Linked DNA regions of Homo sapiens: regions 1 and 3 are each linked to region 2. The links are contacts of gene promoters, found by promoter capture Hi-C in blood cells and fetal thymus (Javierre and others, 2016). All regions are on one chromosome and are shown on one strand. Each heading gives the region's core, a stretch centred on a gene start or on the middle of the fragment in contact. The rest is flanking DNA. Distances are from core to core; before and after follow the strand shown. Region 1 overlaps SLC22A23 (solute carrier family 22 member 23). Region 2 holds the start of LINC01011 (long intergenic non-protein coding RNA 1011). Region 3 overlaps SLC22A23 (solute carrier family 22 member 23).

What was found. Contacts are between HindIII fragments. The CHiCAGO score rates a contact against its expected background, and 5 or more counts as called.
Region 1: a fragment that was not itself captured here is called in contact with the fragment with the promoter of LINC01011 in region 2 in 1 of 17 cell types (activated CD4 T cells); the score reaches 5.1 in activated CD4 T cells.
Region 3: a contact is called between a fragment that was not itself captured here and the fragment with the promoter of LINC01011 in region 2, in 2 of 17 cell types (non-activated CD4 T cells and naive CD4 T cells). The highest score is 5.5, in non-activated CD4 T cells.

The regions. Positions count from the first base shown.
Region 1 is chr6:3,271,999-3,275,854 of GRCh38, forward strand. It overlaps SLC22A23 (solute carrier family 22 member 23), which reads right to left. Exons shown (of 10, transcript NM_015482.2): 10 at 1-1,414. The coding sequence ends at 1,057. Among named protein-coding and RNA genes, the nearest start is that of PSMG4, 15 kb to the left of the region's middle. The HindIII fragment of the contact is 825 bases long and covers 1,633-2,457 here.
Region 2 is chr6:2,985,810-2,989,659 of GRCh38, forward strand. LINC01011 (long intergenic non-protein coding RNA 1011) reads left to right here and starts at 2,158. Exons shown (of 3, transcript NR_026856.1): 1 at 2,158-2,222; 2 at 3,719-3,850. NQO2-AS1 (NQO2 antisense RNA 1) reads right to left here. Exons shown (of 2, transcript NR_186367.1): 2 at 3,527-3,850. RefSeq lists enhancers at 2,100-2,909, 2,910-3,719, 3,720-3,850 and a silencer at 3,103-3,522. The HindIII fragment of the contact is 2,996 bases long and covers 1,579-3,850 here.
Region 3 is chr6:3,357,972-3,361,578 of GRCh38, forward strand. The region is part of intron 3 of SLC22A23 (solute carrier family 22 member 23); the gene reads right to left. Among named protein-coding and RNA genes, the nearest start is that of SLC22A23, 97 kb to the right of the region's middle. The HindIII fragment of the contact is 3,725 bases long and covers 1-3,301 here.

The DNA.
Region 1 (3,856 bases), core at 795-3,294, 290 kb after region 2:
GCCCAGCTCCTGCGGGTGCTCCCTGGAGTGATGTCTGAGGTGACGGCCATCCAAGCTGGTGATCTTCATGGTGTGTGCTCAAGGTGTGGGTGACGGGCGTGTGTGTGTGGAGGGCAGCCCCCCTTCTGTGGATTTGCCTCTGCCATCTTTTTGAGTTATTTTCTAATGGTTTGTAGCTTAGAAAGTAGCCATGTTTTCAAGTAGTGCCGGCACAAGAGCTGCCTGTGCACGAGGGACTTTTCTGCTGGAGCCAATCTGGGAGAGGAGGAATAAAAACGAGCACATCTCAGGTCTCGACGCATCTGTTAGCTGTGTACTCACAAAGCTGTGGCGATATGACTGCTGCTCAATTAAGATTTCTGGTGAAATGTTTAAGCTTTTTCTCCAAGAGCTTCCAGCATCAAGTACAAAAGGATGATCCTGAAGGAAAGATGAAGCTGGTTTTAACGGCGTCTGTGAGCTGCTTTCCCTGCACACGAACAGAAGCTCTTACCTTACAAACAGAAAGGGAAAAAGGACCTTAAAAAACCATACACAGACTCTAGCAAAAGCCAAATTCATGTACATTTCACTCCGTCTAAAATGCAGTCCCGGAAACGCTCCACGGTCCTCTCCTGCCTCTGCACGCAGGCAGGCAGCCTGGGGGGCTCCTGGGTGCTGCCAGGAGCCGTGTCCCATCTCCCCAGAGGGACCGGCCATGGCCCTGGTCACTGTGGCATCTTCCCAGAGCAACTGCGTCTCGCTGCCCAGGGAGGTGATTCCATTTGTGATCAGTGAGAGGGAGAGGGAATAAAGTGCTTCTCGTAAAAATGACCAAAATAAATACACACATTTAACGGCAGAAAAGAAAGTCTTGAAAGGGTTATTTCCAAAGAGTTTGTCTCCTCCGACCCGCGCTCCTTGGACTTTTGGAAAGACAGGATTTCCCCACACCAGTTGAGAGGCTCAGCTTGGCTGAGGCAGCTTTCCCACCCCTGGCTGCGTGTTCGGTCCCTGGTCTGTAAACCTGTGCCCAAGCTGCCCCAGACCCTGGAGCCCCGGGTTCCGCAGGCCGGGCTACATGGCCTTCATGCCGTTGGCCGTGGCACCCTCGGGCAGTGTGTCACCCGCGGCTGCGGCATCGTGGAGGCCCGAGTAGTCCTTGAGCTCGGCGTTGGTGAGCAGCAGTGGCTGCTCCCCCTTCTTGTGCGGCAGCAGCGGCTGGCGCGTGTAGTGCTCCCCGTTAGAAATGTTCTCAGGCAGGTTCTGGTCCCTGCTCTCGGGCAGCAGGAGGATGCAGATGATGCAGATGAGCGTGCAGCAGGCAAAGATGATGTGGTGCAGGAAGTAGCCTTTCTGGTTGTGCAGCTCGATGATGGGTGCCGTCAGCATGCCGAAGCCCGCGCTGGCCAGCACCAGCCCCAGCCCGCCACACCTGCAGGGGGAGGGAAGCACAGGGATTGCTGCTGTGGGCTAGCGGGCTGGATCCCGGGAAAGCTCGGGGTGGACCAGGAAGCCACCTCTGCAGGGGCCCTGCTGCCCTGGGCACTGCCCAGTATACCCCGACCTCACACGTCCCATGTCACCAGCACCCTGGCTGTGTCTGTACAAGGCCACTCTACGGCAGTGACTGTTTTTCCTCATCAAATCAAAAGCTTTTACTTAATTTATCTTTTTCTTTAATGTTTCCTATTTTTATTGTTTTTTCAGGGCTGGGGACCATGAGAACTTTATTTTGAAAGGCAGCCTTATATAATACTACTGTAAATGGGAAGCTGATATTACTTGCCATAAGTAGTATACAAGGAAAAACAAAAGGGATTGAAATTATGCCATTTCCTGAAGGCCTGGGGGATTACCAAGGGTTAAAGAGGGTACTAAGGACATACCAACACGAACAGAGACTTTCTCTTTGTCATAACTGGAGAGACTGCAAGATACTTTAAAAGAGTAGTTTCCTCACTGTGAGTTGATGGCCCACGTGTCTCCTGAAATTGCTCACATACCACCATTGGAAACGGTCCCATCTCTGAGGATTGTGCCTGAAGGGTCCCCCAAATGAAGCTGTGCACTGACAGAGAGGAACTCACTGCAGCTCTGAGCTCAGGATAACCAAAGTCCAGAAGGCAAGCCATTGATTTCCACTCCCTGCCTTGTACGGGAGCAGCCAAGAGTCCCAGGGATTAGTAGATACGCAAAACTTACAGAACCCCTATCCCTCAAACCTCTCCACTTTGACCTAAAAACACATTACTGGGACAAAGGTGTTCTGTGGCCCCTGAGAAAGCAGTGCTGTACCAGGCTGCAGTGGGACCGTGGCGCTCAGGTGTCAGGCCAGGCTAGAGAGGGCTGCCTGGTCCCCAGTTCTGGGGCCTCATTGAAGGAGGTAGGCAGAGGTGGCCTTGTCTCAAGGAAGAGGGAGTGGAGTTGTGTGCCTCGCTCCACAGCAGCAGGTAGACTGGTCCTTTGGTTTGGGGAAGCTTTCTAATGGGCTGCTCGTTAGGCACCCCCTTGAAGTGAAGAGGGCTGTATCCTTTGAACTGCTGAGGCTGAGTGGGCTGAAAGGGAGGTCCCTGCAACAGGTAGGAGGCAGGTAGATAACTCCAGCTCTTGACTAGTCTGTGGTTCTCTTGGTTGGCACTATAGGTAGCTCCTAACTCACCAAAAGACTGTCCTACAAGGTCACAAGATAAAAGATCAACATACAAAAGTCAATTATATGTCTACGTGCTAGCAACACCCAAAAATGAAAATGCCATTCACAATAACATCCAATGAATAAAATGTTTAGAAATAAATAACAAAGGAATGCAAGACTTGTATGCTGAAAAAGATAAAACATTGCTGAAAATTAAAAGATAAAAATAAATGGAGTGACATTCCATGTTCATGAATTAGAAGACTAAATATTATAAAGATGGTAATTTTTCCCAAATTGATCTATACATTCCACATAATCCCTATCAAAATTCCAGGTGACTTTTTTTTTTTTTCAGAAAACAGCCAATTCTAAAATTTATATGGAAATGCAAAAGACTCAGAGTAGTCAAAAACAATTTTGGAAAAGAACAAAGAAGGCTTGCCTTCCCAGTTTCAAAACTATAAAGCCATACGGCTTAAGGCAGTGTGGTGTTGGTGTATATATCAATAGATCAATGGAACAGAACTGGGAGTTCAGAAACTAACCTTCACATTTATGGTCAACTGACTGTAGATGGAGGCAAATCCAGTGAGGGGGAAGGGATAGTTTTTTCAACAGGTGGTGCTGGGACAACAGGATATTCATGTGCAAAAGAATGATGTTGGACCCTTCACATCATGTAAAAAAATGAACTCAAAATGGATAATAAAATCTAAGTGCTTAACTTAGCTCAAACTATAACGCTTCTAGAAGAAAACAAGAGAAAAGCTTTATGACGTTGGGTTAGGCAAAGATTTCTTACACATAACATCAAAAGTAGGATCCATAAAAGAAAAAGCTGATCAATTGGACTTCATTAGGATTAAAAACTCCTACCCTTCAAAAGATACATGTTTAAGAAAAAAAGACCATAGACTGGGAGAAAATATTCGTGAAGCATATATCAGATAAAGGACTTGTAACTAGAATATATAAAGAACTTTTTTTTGAGAGTCTCACTGTCGCACAGGCTGGAGTGTAGTGGCATGATCTCGGCTCACTGCAAGCTCTGCCTCCCAGGTTCATGTCATTCTCCTGCCTCAGCCTCCTGAGTAGCTGGGACTATAGGCGCGTGCCACCATGCCCAGCTAATTTTTTGTATTTTTAGTAGAGTCGGGGTTTCGCTGTGTTAGCCAGGGTGGTCTTGATCTCCTAACCTCGTGATCCACCCGCCTTGGCCTCCCAAAGTGTTGGGAT
Region 2 (3,850 bases), core at 908-3,407:
TTTCTGGGTGCCCACCTGAAGTAGAGAATCCCAACCCCTTACCATGAAAACAGATAATCTGTTCACTGAGCCCCAAGGACAAAGCAGCCAGGGTCGACTGAGGGGCTACTGCAGCCTTCCTCTCTGACTCCTCCCACCTAACCATTCCCTCAATACCTCAATACACACACTCCTTTCTTTCCCAAGTCTATTGCCTCTTCCAAAAGCAATGTAAGATCCGCCCCAGAACAGTGGGGAGTTCTTATCCTTTCCGTTACCTAAGCAACCTGAGGGCAAAGACCTTTAGATCACCGGCAGTGCTGTTCTTTGGGTAACTTGATCTTTGCTTATCAGCTTTAATAACTTTATTATACGAAATACCCAGCCTTGATGAAGTATCGATGACTCACTAACTGTGGTGTAACTAATTGTTTCATTCATTCTACAAACTTTTTTTTTTTTTTTTGAGACAGAGTCTCACTCTGTTGCACAGGCTGGAGTGCAGTGGCGCGATCTCAGCTTACTGCAACTTCCACCTCCTAGGTTTGAGCGATTCTCCTGCCTCAGCCTCCTGAGTAGCTGGGATTACAGGCGCGTGCCACCACACCCGGCTATTTTTTGTATTTTTAGTAGAGACGAGGTTTCACCATGTTGGTCAGGCTGGTCTCAAACTCCTGACCTCGTGATCTGCCCACCTTGGCCTCACAAAGTGCTGGGATTACCGGCATGAGCCACCGCGCCTGGCCTCATTCTACAAACTTTTATTCTGCACTCACTATAGGCTGGGAGCTACACTAGGGCCTGGGGACATGAAGACAGGCGACACGGTCCCTGGGCTCAAGATGCCAGACAGATGTGCAAACAAGTGAAATCTGATGTGATATGTGCTTTAGTGGTGCCAAGGATAAAAGGATAAGTGTTAAGAAAAAGTAGCAACAATATGTCTGACTGGGAGAATCAAGAAAGGTGTCATAGAGTCCCTAACACTTGAGCTGAGAATGAGAAAGAGCATGAGCTGGCCAGGTGACACACAGAGCATATTCCAACCTAGGAGACTGGGAAATGGGCCAAAATATATACGTTTGAGGAAACAAATAGCTTACTATATAATTAAATATGAGGCAGTTTAGACTGGGCCCTTATGGATAAGTCACACCCATAAATTTTATTTCATCTTACAGGCAGTGGAGAGCCTCTGGAGGATTCTGAGCTTCGTGGTCTCATCATCAGAGTTATGTATGGCAACCATCCCAACCTTTTTGGCACCAGGGAGGGGTTTTGTGGAAAACTATTTTTCCTTGGACAGCAGAGGATGGTTTCGGGATGATTCAAGCACATGACACTTCTTGTGCACTTTATTTTCAGTGGGAGCCCTGAGCTTGTTTTCCTGCAACTATCTGGCCCCATGTGGGGGTGATGAAGACAACGGCAGATTATCAGGCATTAGATTCTCATAAGGAGCGCACATCCTAGATCCCTTATGTGTGCAGTTCACAGTAGGGTTTGTGCTCCTATAAGAATCTAATGCTGCCTGATCTGATAGGAGGCAGAGCTCTGGTGGTAATGCAAGCAATGGGGAGCAGCTGCACATACAGATAAAGCTTCACTAGCTCACCCACTGGTGGCTCACCTCTTGCTGTGTGTCCTGGTTCCTAACAGGCTACAGACCAGTCAGGTCTGTGGCCCGGGGGTTGGGAACTCCTGGTGTATGGAAGAGACTACTCTGCAGCAATGTGGACAAATAGGATGAGGGTGAGCTGTCAGGGGAGACAGGCACACATGGCAGAGCTATTTAAAAAGGAGGATAGATGACCAGGCACAGTGGCTCATGCCAGTAATCCCAGCACTTTGGGAGGCAGAGGCAGGCGGATCACGAGGTCAGCAGTTCAAGACCAGCCTGGCCAACATGGCAAAACCTCATCTCTGCTAAAAATACAAAAATTAGCTGGGCGTGGTGACATGCGCCTGTAATCCCAGCTACTCAGGAGGCTGAGGCAGGAGAATCACTTGAACCCGGGAGGCAAAGATTGCAGTGAGCCGAGATCGTGCCATTGCACTCTAGCCTGGGCAACACAGCAAGACTCTGACTGGAAAAAAAAAAAAAAAAAAAGGAGGATAGACAGGGCTTGGGGATTGGTGGATGGGTAGATAAGGAAGGAGGAGTCTAGCATGACTCTCAGACTACTGACTTGGACCAGCAGGGGAATGGCTGTGACAATAAATAAGATTGGGAAAACAAGAAGGTGAGCAAATTTAGAGGAGAAAATGAATTTCATTTTTGGCATGGTGTGGAAGGCTCGGGAGAGAGGTCTAGGCACCAGATGTCAACGTGAGGTGAAATGGATATAGCTGAAGTCAAGGGTGTGGTGAGGTTTTGCAGGGAGAGCAGGGACCTCCAGCAAGGCCAGTGCATAAGGGAGAATAGAGAAAAAAAGAACCAGAAAAAGACAAGGAGAGGCCAGAGAGGTGTGGAAAGAACCAGGGAAGACAGTTATTCACAACAAACAAAAGAGGGCAGAGTTTTAGAGAAGGAACTGAGCAGTTTGGGGCTCCAGGTGGGGCAGGAGTGGGTGGCCACGGTTGAGGGGCAGTGGCCTTCAAATTGGTCTGGGTAGGTTCTAATGGGTCAGATTGGTCAGTCCTTTCCAGGACACTGAAGGCTGCAGAGGTGTGACTGGATGCTGGTGGAGGGATGCATGGCGGGGAAGCTGAGTCAGATCCTGAAATCCTCCAAGCATGCGCCTGAAATGACCAAGGGAAATGAAGGCGGAGGCTGCTGTCGCCTGGTGGCCTGGGAAGGGCCAAGAGCCAGGGAGCTGGAGGGAGGAGAGAACGTGCGACCTCAGCACGGAGCACTGTAGGGGAGGCGGGGCTGGAGGGAGATGGCGCCGCGCTCCCGGATGAACAGAGAAAGCGACAGGGTGAGTCGCAGGGCACAGTGTGGGATGAGTCACCGACAGCAAGGCATGGACTCCGGGAAGAAGGGGAGACGAGCCGGGAAAGACTTGCATCGGGGATGTGAGCTGAGCTGCACCCAGACAAAAGCGGCTCGGGGCTCCTGAAAGCAGCAGGCACCGCCGGTCCTGCCAAGGGGCTACTTCCTGCGCGGAGTAGGAGAGTAGGAGACCCCAGGCCAGTCCCAATCCCCGGCCCGTCCGGGATGAGGGGGGCTGCGGGAGCTGCGGGGGCCTCCTCCAGGGAGGACGGTTGCAGGGTCCCTCGGCCGCCGCCCACTCCCGGGGGCGTTCCTTCCTCCCAGCTGCGCCCGGAGCGCCTGCTGCCTGGCGAGAGCCCGCCCCTCTGCAACCAGCCCGCTGCAGCGGAGGGCGCCTGGGTGCCCTCGGCCGAGCCAGCAGCCCACGGTCGGCGCCGCACTGTCCCCTGGTGGCGGAGCGCTCCCGCGACCCGGCTCGCCACGCCTGGGAGGGGTCCAGGAGGACGCGGCTGGGACCTGGGGGCTCTCAGGGTGGGGCCTTGGGGGATGAGGCTGGGGCCCGCGGGAAACCGGGCTGGGGCGAGGAGGCTCGCAGGACTTCCTGCCACAGAATGTTTCGATGCTTTTTTTAATTCTGCAAATGTAAGCCTTTCCACTTTAAGTCCAAGCTCAGCGCAGAGGACTGTTCTATAATACATACAATTTAGTTTAAAAATGTTGCAAATGTTAACATGTGTCACAAACTCAAGCAATCCAGTATTATAGAAAGCAAAGAATGAAATGTGCTGCTTCTTTCTCCCCCAGACGCCCTTGCATACATTAAGATATGTATATATGGAAATGTTACCGGGAGTCCCGGTTATCCCAAAAAGGGTTGTTTCCTGTTGCGTGGTGAGGCCAATGCACGAAACCGAAAGGGAGTGTGTCAAGCAGTGC
Region 3 (3,607 bases), core at 189-2,688, 370 kb after region 2:
GGGAAGGGAAGAGGCCTGGGAGGAGAGTTTTCAGAGAGGCAACCAGCTCTTGCAAAGGCGGCCAGTGCAGAAGAGGCTAGACAGGTTAGGTTCTCAGTATCAAAGTCCCCAGGATGGAGAGAAATTGGAACCTTTAAACACTGTTGGTAGGGATGCAAAAATGGTGCAGCCATTATGGAAAACAGTATGGCAGTTCCTCAAAAAACTAAAACTAGAACTGCCATATGATCCAGTGATTCTACTTCCAGGTACTTATCCAAAAGAATTGAAATTAGGATCTCAAAGCACTTGACGTGAGCGCTCCCACGTTCACTGCAGTGTTATCCACAACAGCCAAGATATGGAAACAACGCAGAGGTCCACTGATAGGTGAAGGGACACACGAAACACAGTGAAAAATACAATAGAATATGATTCCGCTTAAGAACGAATGAAATTCTGACACGTACGACACGTGGATGAACTTGGAGGAATTATGTTAAGTGAAATAAGCCAGTCACAGAAGGACAAATACTACATGATTCCACTTACATGAGGCATGTAAAAATAGGCAAATTCAGAAAATCAAAGAGTGGGCTGATGGTTGCCGGGGGTAGAGGGAGGGAGACATGGGGAGTTGCTCGTCAACTAGCATCAGCTTTCAGGCAGGCGAGATGAATAAGCTCTGGAACTCTGCTGCACACATTGTGTCTATAGTTCACGATACTGTGCTGTACACTGAAAAAACCTGTTAAGAGGGTGGGTCTCATGTTAGATGTTCTTACCACAAATAAAATTAAAAAATAAAATAAAAAAGGCCCCAGGAGAGTTTCTGTTTCATCAACCCAAGGAAAACACCGGAAGGAGTCACAGCTCCAGTGAGGAAGAAGTGAGAAGGGATCTGCCATCGGGGGCTGGAGGGATGGTGGGAACCTTTGCCATTTCAAAGGGAAGCCCTGGCTCCCCTCGGGCACAGCATCCTGGGTGGGGTCTGCACCCCGAGCTGCCACCCATTGCATTTCCATGTCAGCGCCATGTCAGGTGCGCTGTGCCGATGTCTAATCAAGTCTCAGTCATTCAGGATGAAGAGAGAATAGGGAATTCAAAATACATAACTGCAAAAATGAAAGCTCCTTTATTAATTTAGTGCAATACAGAGACGTCCCAGAACAACACGGGCTGCATCCAGAATCACAGATCATTTCAACTAAGAAAAAGATGGGCACCGAGAAGGAGAGCGAGGAACATGCCAGCTGAGACTCATTTCATTCTAGGACAGTACTAGAATGAGCATCTCACTGGGAATTCACCGCCCTCAGGCAGATAACAGATGCTGCTAAGCTATGCTAGCTGGTGTTGCCACGTTTATTCTTCATCACTGAGTGGTTCTCCTTAGGTCACACATATAACTATCCATCTGAGTGCAAGTTTAAAACAAAACAAAAACTGAAGAGGACATACAGATGGCCAAGAAGCACATGGAAAGATGCTCAACGTCACTGTCATCGGGGAAATGTACATCACAGCGACAATGTGGTAGCCCTTCACATCCATCAGGATGGTAGCTGCTGTCAAACAAACAGGAAATAACAAGTGCTGACAAGAATGTGGGGAAACTGGAACCCTGGTGCACCAGTACATTCCTGGTGGGAATGTACAACGGTGCAGCCAACTGGAGAAAACAATATCCCTGTTCTTCATAGAATTAAACAGAGGATTACCATCTGACTCAGCAATGCCACTTTTGGGTATAACCCCCCAAAAGTGAAAGCAAGGACCTGAAATGATATTTGCACACCTATGTTCACGGCAGCATATTCACAACAGCCAAAAGGTGGGAGCAACGCAGGTGTCCATCAACAGATGAATGGATAAGAAAATGTGATCCATCCAGAGGATGAAATATAACTCAGCCTTAAAAAGGGAGGCCATATCCAACATATGCTATAGTATAAAGGAAGCATTTTTTCTTTTTTTCTTATTTTCACTTATTTTTGTCCTTAGAGGTCCTTGTTCTGAGGGAATCCTGAAGACATTATGCTAAGTGAAGTAAGCCAGTCACAAAAGGACAAATATTGCATGATCCACTTAAATAGGTTCTTAGGTAGGCAAATTCATAGAAACAGAAAGTAGAAGGGTGGCTGCTCGGGACTAAGGGATGGGAATGGGGAGTGTTTATTGGGGACAGAGTTTGTTTGGGAAGATGAAAAGACCTCTAGAGATGAAGGGTGGTGATGGCTGTGTAAAAATGTGAATTACTTAATGCCACTGAATGGTACAATTAAAAGTAGTTAAAATGGTAATTTTTATGCTATGTTTATTTTACCATGATAAAACAAACACCCCCCTCCAAATAAAACAACAACAAAAAAGGCAAGTCCGTAGTATTGGCCTTTGAGAGCTCTGACCTCAGCTGTGCCCCGCCCACCCATCCACCCAAGGATCCTTAAACTCAGGAGGATCAGAAAGGCTCAATCACCAGGAGGTGAGGTGAGTCACAGAGCTCACTGCATTGCCATTCTTGGGGGCATTTGTCTCATCTGCCTTAAAATACAGAACTGCATTCTCATAGTCGGGTTTCAGGCAACGGCTCAACCGTGGAGGGAGGTCACTTTGGGGCCTTTGCACACATCCGAGTCAACCTCAACAGTCTTAGTCCACACATCTCTGTATTTCCGGTCACTTATTGCTATGCTGACTGCTCATCTAAGCCCCAGATACTGTCCCAGTTATTTAGGAGACAAAGAGGCCCTCAAGCTGGCCTGAGCCCCCAAGGGGTCCTCAGTGATGTCGACACGACAGGTGTGCAGGCACCCCCATGCAGACGGGCCCCTCTGATGGAGACCTGCGTTCGGCCAGGCAGGCCCACAGCTGGCGTGGTCATCCAGGGCGGGAACGGGATTGGACGAAGCCTTCCCTCGGGCAAAGATGCTGGGGTGGGGAACAGGTGCAGCAGGAACAGAAGGTCAGAGCGTGGTACTGGGGTGACGAGAGGCGCTAGCGAACATCAGCAGCTGCGGGGAGCTCGAGGCAGCAGGGATGTCCAGGCCACAGAAGGTGTCCCACATTTTATATTCCTGTTGTTTGTATATTTTCTATTTCTACCCACCCCCCCCATTTTATGCCTGACCCCAAGTTAAACTGCTTAAGGACTTAAGACCCCAACCAGCTGTGACTTAGATCAGGGTTTCTCCCCCAAAGGAGCCTGCAGCAGTGTCACACAGAACACACCCCCTCAACTGTCTTTCTACTGAAAAAAAAGAGAGGGAAACGTGCTTCAATAAGAGGGACACAGGGACCCCCAAGCCCTGCCCTTTAGAGAAGCTTAAAGACTCCTACATCATTCTTTTTTTTTTTTTTTTTAAGGAATTGGGTCCCTTCCATCTGTGGCCATGACCGTTCATCCCACAGCCTGTCCTCCTCTCTTGAGAGCTGTCCTGGCTCAGGCTGTGGCTGGATTCTCAAGCAGCATCATGTGGCCAGGTTAGGAGCAGGATGTCACAGAGAGAGGGGTCCAAAGTTCAGCTGCTGGGAAAGGCCACAAAGACTGGGGTCCCAGGAGAACGGCGACCTGCCTATCAGTTCTATCTCTAAAACTCTGGGGTTCGACTCTCCAGACTTAGCTTCT